2 separate regions of the Homo sapiens genome follow, and region 1 is linked to region 2. Evidence: promoter capture Hi-C in 16 types of primary human blood cells and fetal thymus (Javierre and others, 2016). All regions are on one chromosome and are shown on one strand. Each heading gives the region's core, a stretch centred on a gene start or on the middle of the fragment in contact. The rest is flanking DNA. Distances are from core to core; before and after follow the strand shown.

What was found. Contacts are between HindIII fragments. The CHiCAGO score rates a contact against its expected background, and 5 or more counts as called.
Region 1: a fragment that was not itself captured here is called in contact with the fragment with the promoter of LSM14A in region 2 in 1 of 17 cell types (M0 macrophages); the score reaches 5.2 in M0 macrophages.

What each region holds. Positions count from the first base shown.
Region 1 is chr19:33,297,337-33,303,452 of GRCh38, reverse strand. It overlaps CEBPA (CCAAT enhancer binding protein alpha), which reads left to right and starts at 919. Exons shown (of 1, transcript NM_004364.5): 1 at 919-3,519. The coding sequence starts at 1,039. The coding sequence ends at 2,115. It overlaps CEBPA-DT (CEBPA divergent transcript), which reads right to left and starts at 632. Exons shown (of 1, transcript NR_026887.2): 1 at 1-632. RefSeq lists silencers at 179-438, 519-1,088. The HindIII fragment of the contact is 1,537 bases long and covers 3,035-4,571 here.
Region 2 is chr19:34,170,434-34,176,310 of GRCh38, reverse strand. It overlaps LSM14A (LSM14A mRNA processing body assembly factor), which reads right to left and starts at 3,807. Exons shown (of 10, transcript NM_015578.4): 1 at 3,548-3,807. The coding sequence starts at 3,668. The HindIII fragment of the contact is 4,496 bases long and covers 2,867-5,877 here.

The sequences.
Region 1 (6,116 bases), core at 2,554-5,053, 870 kb after region 2:
GCCCCAGAGTTAAGTTTGTCTCCTCCCTCGGTGCGCCCCTCCCCGTGCTCGCCCCGGCGTCCAGCTCCGCTAGTCTGGGGGGCCCCGCGGTCCCGCAGGAAAAAAAATCGGCGACTCCACGCCGGGTAACAGCGCCGGCCCCGCGCGCCTAGCAAGCCGCGCGCTCCGACCTGGAGAAGTAATTATAAAGAAAGTTTTCCAGCCCGGGCGGATCGACCGGCCAGGTCCTCCAGGCTCCCGGGCCGAGGCCGCCTCCGCTCCCCGCGGGGTCCTAGCGCCCTGCGCGGCGCCGCCCATGGGACCCCGGCGTCCTCCGAGAGGTACCTCTGCGCGGAATCACAGGGGTAGCCTGGAGATCAGAGCTAGGAGACGCAGAGCCACCGCGCTCAGGACCTCTCCGCGCGTCCCAAACGGCCCCCCACCGGCCCCAGCCCCGCTGCTCTGCGCTGCAGCCTCCCCGGGACGCGGGTCCGGGACAGGCCTGGTTCTGGCTTTGAAAGAGAATCCGCGCCCCAGCAGCTCAAGACCAAGACTCGCCCTCCGCCCCCCACCCCTACCCCGTGCAGCCTCGGGATACTCCTGGGCTCCCGGCCGTGGCTGGATACGGGCGCCTAGGGCAGGCAGGAGGAGGGGGCCCCCGCTACCGACCACGTGGGCGCGGGGGCGACGGCCGGGCCGGGGGCGGAGCTTGGAGCGAGCGCCGCGGCTCTGCTGGGCGCGCTGGAGGCGGTGGGCGTTGCGCCGCGGCCTGCCTGGGGAGCGCGGCGCTGTGCCGCGCTGGTTCGCCGCCCCATGCCGGCCGCGCGCTAGGACCCAGCAGGCGCCGCGCCGCCGCAGCCCGGGGACAGAGGCCGCCTCGGACTCTAGGGGGCGACGCGGCCTGCCGGGTATAAAAGCTGGGCCGGCGCGGGCCGGGCCATTCGCGACCCGGAGGTGCGCGGGCGCGGGCGAGCAGGGTCTCCGGGTGGGCGGCGGCGACGCCCCGCGCAGGCTGGAGGCCGCCGAGGCTCGCCATGCCGGGAGAACTCTAACTCCCCCATGGAGTCGGCCGACTTCTACGAGGCGGAGCCGCGGCCCCCGATGAGCAGCCACCTGCAGAGCCCCCCGCACGCGCCCAGCAGCGCCGCCTTCGGCTTTCCCCGGGGCGCGGGCCCCGCGCAGCCTCCCGCCCCACCTGCCGCCCCGGAGCCGCTGGGCGGCATCTGCGAGCACGAGACGTCCATCGACATCAGCGCCTACATCGACCCGGCCGCCTTCAACGACGAGTTCCTGGCCGACCTGTTCCAGCACAGCCGGCAGCAGGAGAAGGCCAAGGCGGCCGTGGGCCCCACGGGCGGCGGCGGCGGCGGCGACTTTGACTACCCGGGCGCGCCCGCGGGCCCCGGCGGCGCCGTCATGCCCGGGGGAGCGCACGGGCCCCCGCCCGGCTACGGCTGCGCGGCCGCCGGCTACCTGGACGGCAGGCTGGAGCCCCTGTACGAGCGCGTCGGGGCGCCGGCGCTGCGGCCGCTGGTGATCAAGCAGGAGCCCCGCGAGGAGGATGAAGCCAAGCAGCTGGCGCTGGCCGGCCTCTTCCCTTACCAGCCGCCGCCGCCGCCGCCGCCCTCGCACCCGCACCCGCACCCGCCGCCCGCGCACCTGGCCGCCCCGCACCTGCAGTTCCAGATCGCGCACTGCGGCCAGACCACCATGCACCTGCAGCCCGGTCACCCCACGCCGCCGCCCACGCCCGTGCCCAGCCCGCACCCCGCGCCCGCGCTCGGTGCCGCCGGCCTGCCGGGCCCTGGCAGCGCGCTCAAGGGGCTGGGCGCCGCGCACCCCGACCTCCGCGCGAGTGGCGGCAGCGGCGCGGGCAAGGCCAAGAAGTCGGTGGACAAGAACAGCAACGAGTACCGGGTGCGGCGCGAGCGCAACAACATCGCGGTGCGCAAGAGCCGCGACAAGGCCAAGCAGCGCAACGTGGAGACGCAGCAGAAGGTGCTGGAGCTGACCAGTGACAATGACCGCCTGCGCAAGCGGGTGGAACAGCTGAGCCGCGAACTGGACACGCTGCGGGGCATCTTCCGCCAGCTGCCAGAGAGCTCCTTGGTCAAGGCCATGGGCAACTGCGCGTGAGGCGCGCGGCTGTGGGACCGCCCTGGGCCAGCCTCCGGCGGGGACCCAGGGAGTGGTTTGGGGTCGCCGGATCTCGAGGCTTGCCCGAGCCGTGCGAGCCAGGACTAGGAGATTCCGGTGCCTCCTGAAAGCCTGGCCTGCTCCGCGTGTCCCCTCCCTTCCTCTGCGCCGGACTTGGTGCGTCTAAGATGAGGGGGCCAGGCGGTGGCTTCTCCCTGCGAGGAGGGGAGAATTCTTGGGGCTGAGCTGGGAGCCCGGCAACTCTAGTATTTAGGATAACCTTGTGCCTTGGAAATGCAAACTCACCGCTCCAATGCCTACTGAGTAGGGGGAGCAAATCGTGCCTTGTCATTTTATTTGGAGGTTTCCTGCCTCCTTCCCGAGGCTACAGCAGACCCCCATGAGAGAAGGAGGGGAGCAGGCCCGTGGCAGGAGGAGGGCTCAGGGAGCTGAGATCCCGACAAGCCCGCCAGCCCCAGCCGCTCCTCCACGCCTGTCCTTAGAAAGGGGTGGAAACATAGGGACTTGGGGCTTGGAACCTAAGGTTGTTCCCCTAGTTCTACATGAAGGTGGAGGGTCTCTAGTTCCACGCCTCTCCCACCTCCCTCCGCACACACCCCACCCCAGCCTGCTATAGGCTGGGCTTCCCCTTGGGGCGGAACTCACTGCGATGGGGGTCACCAGGTGACCAGTGGGAGCCCCCACCCCGAGTCACACCAGAAAGCTAGGTCGTGGGTCAGCTCTGAGGATGTATACCCCTGGTGGGAGAGGGAGACCTAGAGATCTGGCTGTGGGGCGGGCATGGGGGGTGAAGGGCCACTGGGACCCTCAGCCTTGTTTGTACTGTATGCCTTCAGCATTGCCTAGGAACACGAAGCACGATCAGTCCATCCCAGAGGGACCGGAGTTATGACAAGCTTTCCAAATATTTTGCTTTATCAGCCGATATCAACACTTGTATCTGGCCTCTGTGCCCCAGCAGTGCCTTGTGCAATGTGAATGTGCGCGTCTCTGCTAAACCACCATTTTATTTGGTTTTTGTTTTGTTTTGGTTTTGCTCGGATACTTGCCAAAATGAGACTCTCCGTCGGCAGCTGGGGGAAGGGTCTGAGACTCCCTTTCCTTTTGGTTTTGGGATTACTTTTGATCCTGGGGGACCAATGAGGTGAGGGGGGTTCTCCTTTGCCCTCAGCTTTCCCCAGCCCCTCCGGCCTGGGCTGCCCACAAGGCTTGTCCCCCAGAGGCCCTGGCTCCTGGTCGGGAAGGGAGGTGGCCTCCCGCCAACGCATCACTGGGGCTGGGAGCAGGGAAGGACGGCTTGGTTCTCTTCTTTTGGGGAGAACGTAGAGTCTCACTCTAGATGTTTTATGTATTATATCTATAATATAAACATATCAAAGTCAATGTCGGTGTCTTTTTAAAACCAGAAAGAAGCTACTTCCAAGGTTGTCTGTGGGCCAGGTCACATTTGTAAATAATACAGCATTTTCCCTGGCGGCAATCCTGACTTTCATGAGCTCTCCATCCATCCTGAGCCCCTCTTACCCTAAGGGGGTGACTTACTTCCCCCAGGCAAGACAAATAAATAGCAGAGGACAAGGCTCCAAATGGAGTATGTCCAGAGCCTGAAGGCAGTCTCTTGGGGTCAGGGGAGGGGGCTGAAGGGGTTACTGGGCTGAGGCCTTGGCGAGGCTTCTTATCTGCCCCGGGGAGGAGGAGAGGGAGTCCTCTGCCTGAGGGGTAGGCCTGGCTAAGCAGCCCTAGGCTCAAGGAGCCCTTTGTGCAGACTTCCTTGCAAATCACCTACAGCTGCAGCCCTGGCCACTCACACACACCGCAGCTCCAGATTCCAGCAGGACCCTCGGCCAGCAGGAAGAGGCCTCCAGTGGTAGGACCCTCCAACCCTCTCCTCTTTCCCTAGACCATGTGGCTACACCCTACCCCTGCGAGGCCCGAAGGCAGCCTGAAGAGAGAGACCCCTCCATCCAGCCCTCCACACCTGCCCAGCCCCAGCCCTCACAAGAAAGGGGGCTGAGGCAGGCCTGCAACAGGGGTCTGGTCCTGCCCCACACACTGGCTGTTCAAGAACCCACCCAGCATCCACACTCCCCACTGCATTCATCCCAGACCCAGCAGGGGACTGAGTGCTGGTGTGCCCCCAACTCCAATGAGCACCCTGTAAGGTCAGGCACTCCGGCACCCCCTTAGCAGCAGTGACAGCCAAGCAAGGGAGGGCAGCCCTTATCCCTGAACTAACAAGGCCCGGGAGAAAGAGGCCCAGGAGGCTGATGGTGCTTTTCAGATTTTACCCTCACGGAGGGTAAAAGATAAATTGCACTTTTCTTTTTTTTTTAACTCTGTACCGAGAGAATGTTCACTGAGTGGCTTACTGTGTGTACCAATGCGGGCTGGGGCATTTTCGAGAAATTACACATTCCTTTTACACTCTGGAAGCTTAGCTTTACCTGCCTGCGTGGTTAGCTGGCACCCCTTCCGGCCCCCCACTCTGTCCTGTGTCTGGCCGCCTCCTCACCCACGGCCGCCCTTGGCAGAGGAGAGGCCACGAGCCCAGTGAGGAGGCGGCGCCTGCCCCGCCACCCTGGGAACAGAGGAGGCAGAGCCCCGCCGCGTGCCCCGAGGCCTGGGGCAGGTCGCAGCTTGCTAAGCCCCAGCAAACCCTCTGAGTTCAGTGCTAATTCCAGTTTTTCTTGTTTGAGGGGGCTGATCCCTGGCTTCCCCCTTTCCCCCCAGAACAGGTCCTAGGACGGGAGGGGGTGGGGCGACCCTCCTGCCCTCACTCCTTCCCCTCCTCTCTGCTGTGCCAGCCCGCTAGGGGCTTCCTCTTTTAAAGCTGATGGCTCCCGGAAGGGATCCCTCCTACCCCGAGTCCTCCTCCTGGTCCTGAGTTCCAGGGTGGGCTTTGTTAGGGACAAGAAGGATCCAATCACATCCAGCCCCAGGAAAGGGATGAGGAGGGCGAGGCCCCCGGGGGGGGCCAAAGTAGAGGGGAGGAAGGTCTTTTGGGCGGCATGGGGTGAACCTGCCCAGCATGTACCCCGTGTCCAGCTGTAGGGGCTTCCCGGGAACAGAGTCACCCTTGGCCACCCACCGCTTCCTGCAGGGTTCCTCACAGTTCCCCTCCTGACTACAGCCTTCAGGAAGAACCATTCCAAGAGCCCAGCACTGAACACACCTCAAGTATTTATCAGATGCCTACTGTATGCCAGGGCCTGCGCCAAAGATGGGGCACTGGGCTGGGAACAAGCCGACTCTGCTCTGGCTCTTGGGGAGCTCACACCCTTGAGGCCCTAAGCTGTGGTTTAAGGTTGCCAAGTGCAATGAAGGGGATCTCAGAGTGTGAACAGGGTCCACCAGGGAGGGCTTTATGGAGGCAGCAGCTTTGATGAAATACCTGGGGAGGGTGGCCTCCTGCTGGCCCCAGTCCCAAGATGCCTGGATGCTTCTCCTTTGCCCTGATCGATCTCCCCTTGACATGTAGCACCTGACTGCAGGGACCTCGCCCCCCTTGCTGCGCCACTCCTGAGCCCTGTGTCCCGTGACAGCGCTGTTCAGGGTTAGCTGGCCTTCAAGGAAAGGGCAAGGGTAGAAGGGAGGGAGGCATCTCCTCTGCTGCCAGATGCGTCCTGATGGCTTAGTGCTGTCACGGATATTACTGTTATCTCCTGGATCTCCTGGGAATCTGTGAACGTGGGGTTTGGCCCTGACACCTGCGATGAGCCACTGGGCCTGGTGAGGAGTGTCTGCCCCTCCCAGCTCTCCCACCTGCTCCTTCCCAGGCAGGAACCTGCCAGGCCTCCTCCAGGAGCTGCTGGTCTCACAGGAGGGGAAGGGGCCACTCATGGGGAAGGACAAGGGATAGCAGAAACCCCTGACTTTGTTTAGCCAAGAGGGGCCTCCAAGGCACCCACAGGCCTTCTCCAGGCATGGGGCAGAGTCCTTGCCTAGATGGTGTTGATATTCCAGCTGTTTCTTTCCTATAC
Region 2 (5,877 bases), core at 2,558-5,057:
ACTCTCCCTGAGAAATTAAAAAAAAAAAAGTTCAAAAGAGAATGCTAAGACTGTTACTCAAAGAGATTAACTCTTAATCCATAGTTTAAAAACAGTAACAGGGATCTCTACATCCAAATACACACTGTATTATAAATTCCATGAATAAACTTTTGGCTTCAGGCCGGGTGCAGTGCCTCACACCTGTAATCCCAGCACTTTGGGAGGCCAAGGTGGGTGGATCATCTGAGGTCAGGAGTTTGAGACCAGCCTGGCCAACATGGTGAAACCCCGTCTCTACTCAAAATACAAAAATTAGCCAGCTGTGTTGGGCGCCTGTAGTCCCAGCTACTCGGAAGGCTGTGGCAGAACTGCTTGAACCCGGGAGGTGGAGGCTGCAGCGAGCCAAGATCGCACCACTGCACTCCAGCCTGGGCAAGAGCAAGACTCTGTCTCAAAACAACAACAAAAAAAAACGAAAACAAAACAAAACAAACACTTTTGGCTTTAATCTTTTAGACTACCATTCTTCGTTCAAATTTTGAAATGGAAGGTGAAATTTTCTGATATCGAATTACTCAACAAGTCATGTAAATTTTAAAATTTTAAGATTGAACTCCTTGCTTCTAATCTTGAAATCTGAAATGTGTCCAGTATTGACTAGACAGTTATAATGTAGTTTTCGATTAGATAATATCATGTAGACTAATATATAAAGGTTTGATAATGTCAGTTTTTGCGAACATAATCAAATTCCCCAAACTGGTTACACATTTAACTCATGTTGCTTAAGAAAAAGCAGCCGGGTGCGGTGGCTCATGCCTGTAATCCCGGCATTCTGGGAGGCTGAGGCAGGTGGATCACTTGAGGTCAGGAGTTCAAGACCAGCCTGGCCAATATGGTGAAAGCCTGTCTCAACTAAAAAATACAAAAATTAGCCAAGCGTGGTGGCACGCGCCAGTAATCCCAGCTACTCAGGAGGCTGAGGCAGGAGAATTGCTTGAACTTGGAAGGCAGAGGTTACAGGGAGCCAGGATTGTGCCACTGCACTCCGGCCTGGGCAACAGAGTGAGACGCCATCTCAAAAAGAAAAAAAAAAAAGAAAAAGAAAAAGCATATAATGATGTGGGATGAAATATCAAAGCCATGAGTACAAACATAAATTCAATGATTAAAAAAATTTTTCACTGCTATATTCATATATTTATCAAGTCATGACACAAAGAACAAATTTATATTTTATGTCATTATGTCATATGAATTTAACTATTACAGACTAATGAAATACTGACTCTAAAAGCTGCTGAAAAGTTTTTTAAAATGTGGGTTGTTAAAATGTAGACTTTTGGGGTTCCTGCATAAAAGGATATGTTCGTAGTTTTTAAAAAAGAACAAAAATACTTTAAAATTTTCAAATGTATTTTTTTTCTTTGTGAGGAATAAAGGTAACACAGCCAACTTATTGAGTCACTAAGCTGGCAAGACACTTTTAAATTCAGATTAGGTAAAGCAATACTTTAAAACAAATTTATTAAACCACTTTAATGAGAAATTATTTTCAACCCATATCTGGCTCTCACCCAGCACTTTTCATAATTTCATAAAGAGAGGCTTTTTCATAATTTCAAAAAGCCAGAAAAACACTATACAGCTAAGTAACTATTGTATAAAAAATATAAAAATAAATTCAAAATAAGGCCAAGCAAAAACTAAGTTACTTAAGAAGCATCACTGGGAAAGTCTTTAATAAACACCAAATACCATCCATCATACATCCTATAGCCGATTTCTAACCGCCAAGTCTACAGGTGTTTTAATGAGGTAATGTGTCACTGCATAATGTTTCACAAGGTGAAGAGGGAAATGTGGGGGTACTCCCTGGTTTTTCATACTACTTTTAAAATTAGACTTGGTGATTTTAAAAAGTGTATAATTCAATGATCTTCAGCAAATTTGCAGAGTTGTGCAACTATCACCATCTCATACTACTCCTTTATGGTGTACAGTTCTGTAACATCAAAAGGTTCCCTACCCAGGTATAAGATTTGTCCCAACACCAGGGCTATTAAAAAGATTTACCAGAGGCTGGGCGCGGTGGCTCATGCCTGTAATCCCAGCACTTTGGGTGGCCGAGGCGGGTGGATCACCTGAGGTCAGGAGTTCGAGACCAGCCTGGCCAACATGGTGAAACCCCGTCTCTACTAAAAATACCAAATTAGCTAGGGGTGGTGGCAGGCGCCTATAATCCCAGCTACTTGGGAGGCTGAGGCAGGAGAATCACTTGAACCCGGGAGGCGGACGTTGCAGTGAGCCGAAATCATTGCCTTTGCACTCCAGCCTGAGCAAAAAGAGCTAAACTCCATCTTAGAAAAATAAATAAATAAATAAATAAATAAAGGATTTACCAGAGCATCCAAGAAATATTATTAAATACTTGATCCCGTGAAACCACTCCCCTATCTGTTAACGATTTTTAAAATTTTACAGATTTCGAAAATCTTCTTCTTTATCCTTGGACCTAACCTATCCACAGGGTCCCTAACCATGCTATGCAGTTCCCACCTCTACCAGAAGTGCTGGGAAAATCACCTAGGTTATCTAGCTTCCCTCAAAGTATTTTACACTGTTGTGAGATTTCCTTTAAGATTCAGGAGCTAAAGTTTATTTTCTTTCTGGTTTCCTGGCGGAGCAAAGGCCCTGCACGTGTGAACGGAAACAAAACCCACACAGACTCTAGGGATGCCAAATATTAACACTGTGGGTAGGGGCACCTTCCTTCTCGGCCGAATTCCCTTTCCCAGAGAGCCTCCAGAGGGATCAGTCAACGCCCACTGAGCCTGGATCAAAGGTCAAGCTTGCCTGGTCAAGAAGGATCCTGGATCAAGCTTGAACCCGTTTCCAGAAACAGGGGCGTCGGGGCAGCAGCAAGCATTTTTACCACGCGCCCTAATGAGGTGGTTGCACAACAGGCTTTGAGGATTCCGGTTTAACAGGTAAATACCAACAGAGGATGAGCCGAGGGAGATGGGATCTGCTCCACGGCATCGATGGCATTTCGAGAATGTCTGCGTCGCAGAGCAAACCCAAAGTTTTAGCACATTACTCAAGAGTTCACCAGAGGAAGATCGCCACGAATTGAAATGAACAAAGTGAGAAAATGGGTGCTGTGTAGTCAACGCATCCGCGATGAACTCAAGCTGGGCGGAAAAATTCTTTGAATACTCCGGCTTTGTTTTGTGCTAAGACGGCAGAAGCCCCGAATTTCGGAGTTGGAAGACGCGTTTCTCCGTGTTCTCCGGCCCGTTCTCGGACTTCAGGGCCGCCCGCCGCGCACTCAGTCCCGTAGTTCCCCGGGCTTCAGGCGCGGACATTCCGGGGGGCGGAAACCAGGGAGCCGCGGGGAGGCCGCGGTCCGGCCCGCGACGCCGGGGCCCGGAGAAGGGAGGCGAGAGGCCTCCCGGAGCTCGACGGAGGGAGGGGAGGGAACGAGGAGGCCGCGGGCCGGAGCGGGGAGCAGCCCCGAGCGGCGCCCGGCTCGGCCCCCACCCTGAGGCCCGGTCCCGCGTACCTTTGGCAAGGGCTACGGTGGAGTTTTCGGTGTCGATGGTGTAGAGGATGCCCTCGTAGCGGATCTCCGCCTTGGAGATGAGGCTGATCTTGCTGCCGATGTAAGGGGTGCCCCCGCTCATGGCGCCGCCGCCGCCGCTCCCAGCTGCTCGCAGAGAGGCAGATCCCACGCCACTGTCGCCCGCTCCGCACGCCCGCTCGCTCCGTCGGCGCCTACAGCAGCCGCTTCAGACCCAACATGGCGGCGGCGCCGGCTCCGCTACCCTCCCCCAGCCTCCCGCCCTCAAGCCGCGGCGCGGCGGCGGCGGCGGCGGCGGCAGCGGCGGCGGCGCGGGGCATGCTGGGAGGGCGAGGCCGCGCTCTCGCGAGACTTGGCCGGCTACTGGTGGCTCCCGGCTCATTCGTGGCCTCGGGAGTCCCGGCAGCGCTTGTTGGCCTGGACTACGGTGGTGGTCTTGGGGCCGCGTGAGAGGAACTTCGGGGACCGGCTGAGTGCCTCGTGGCACCCGCTTGCTGCGGGCTGGAGAGGAGGCGCGCGGCCTTCCTTTTGACTCAGGCCGTGGCCGCCTTGTCGTGGGTCCTGTGTCTTTGCCGACGCGGGGCCCTCGGCCTGGAGCGCTGCCCACCCGCCTCCGAGCTGTGGCGAGCCGCTGCTCATCCTTCTAAGACGCTGAACCTGCACCTCGTGGAGCTCCTACGGCTCCATTACCGCAGTCATCGCCCGGGGAGCTTCCCCCGAGGCTGCCCCTGGAGCTGGGGCTCTCACAAGGACTCAAGTGTTTCAGCCCCTTCCTGTCCCGCTCATTCAGCCGGTCTGAACCAGTTTCATGGCTTGCAACGCCATTGTAACTCACTAATCCCAATTATCAGTATGTAGCTTGGATCAATTCCGTGAACCAGGGTTTCTGTCGAATCTCAAACGTTAAGGGTCCAAAGCCATGCTCCCTGTTTCCCCTCTAACCTGCTCCTTCACCACCGTTCCCTATTTGATGTAAACGGTACCATTTTTACTCAGCTGCTCAGACTAAAAGCCGTGAGTCAGCCTTGCCCTGTCTTGCTTCCACATCTGTTCTGACTACACCTCTCCGTTATGTATACACAATATATCCTAAATCTGACTTCTCATCTCCATTCCTACACTTCTCCCACAAGCCACGATTACTCGGGCTGAATTATTGCAGTAGCCTTCTAAAAGTTGCCTCTGTGTCAACTCTTGCCCCCAGTACTTTATTCTCAATACAGCAGCCAGAGAGATCTTCTTAAAATCTAACTCAGGGCTGGGCGCAGTGGCTCACGCCTGTACTCCCAGTACTTTGGGGGCCCGAGGCGGGCGCATCACCGGTCAGGAGTTCGAGACCAGCCTGGCCAACATGGTGAAACCCCGTCTCTACTAAAAATATAAAAAAATTAGCCAGGCGTGGTGGCGCGCGCCTATAGTCTCAGCTACTTGGGAGGCTGAGGCAGGAGAATTGCTTGAACCCAGGAGGCGGAGGTTGTGGTGAGCCGAGATTGTGCCACTGCACTCCAGCCTGGGCGACAGAGCGAGACTCCGTCTCAAAAAAAAAAAAAAAAATCTAACTCAGATCATGTCCTTCCTCTACTCACTCTACTGATCCCATGTTACACAGAGAGAAAACCAGACTTTGGTGTCTAAGGATATACATGATTTAGCTTCTCGTTCTGTTCCAGTCGCGTCTAATTCAACCAGTACTTGAGCACTTTATTCCAGTCTCTGCTCAAGCATCACCTCCAGAGATGACGTCCCTGACAGCCTTGTTTAAAATAATACCACTCATCTCCTTAACTCAGCTTGTATTTTCTTTATAGCATGTATCTCTCTCAAGTATGTCTGTTTAATTATTTGTATGTATCTGTCTCCTTCACTAGAATGTAAACATTTTGAGATAGTGATGTTGTTTTGGTTGCTGCCGTATCATCAGGGGCCTAGTAACAGCACGTGGCTCAGGGCAGCTGCTCAGTTAATATTTGCTGCATGAATGAACAGCAGGATGAAGGCAGAGCACAGGCAGGACGGTGAGCTGAGTGAGCAAATGGCGAGAAGCCTGGCATCATAAGAGAGGGACACAGGAGAGAGACAGAGCTCTGATGGGGCTGGTGCACAGTGGCTACAAAGAAAGGTTTGGAAATCCCTGTTTCAGTACAAGGTCCATGCGAGGAAGTTGAATTATTTGTTTTTGTTTTTTTGAGACAGTCTCACTCTGTCACTCGGGATGGAGTGCAATGGTGCCATCTCGGCTCACTGCAACCTCTGTCTCCTCTGTTCAAGCGATTCTCCTGCCTCAGCCTCCCGAGTAGCTGGGATTACAGGCG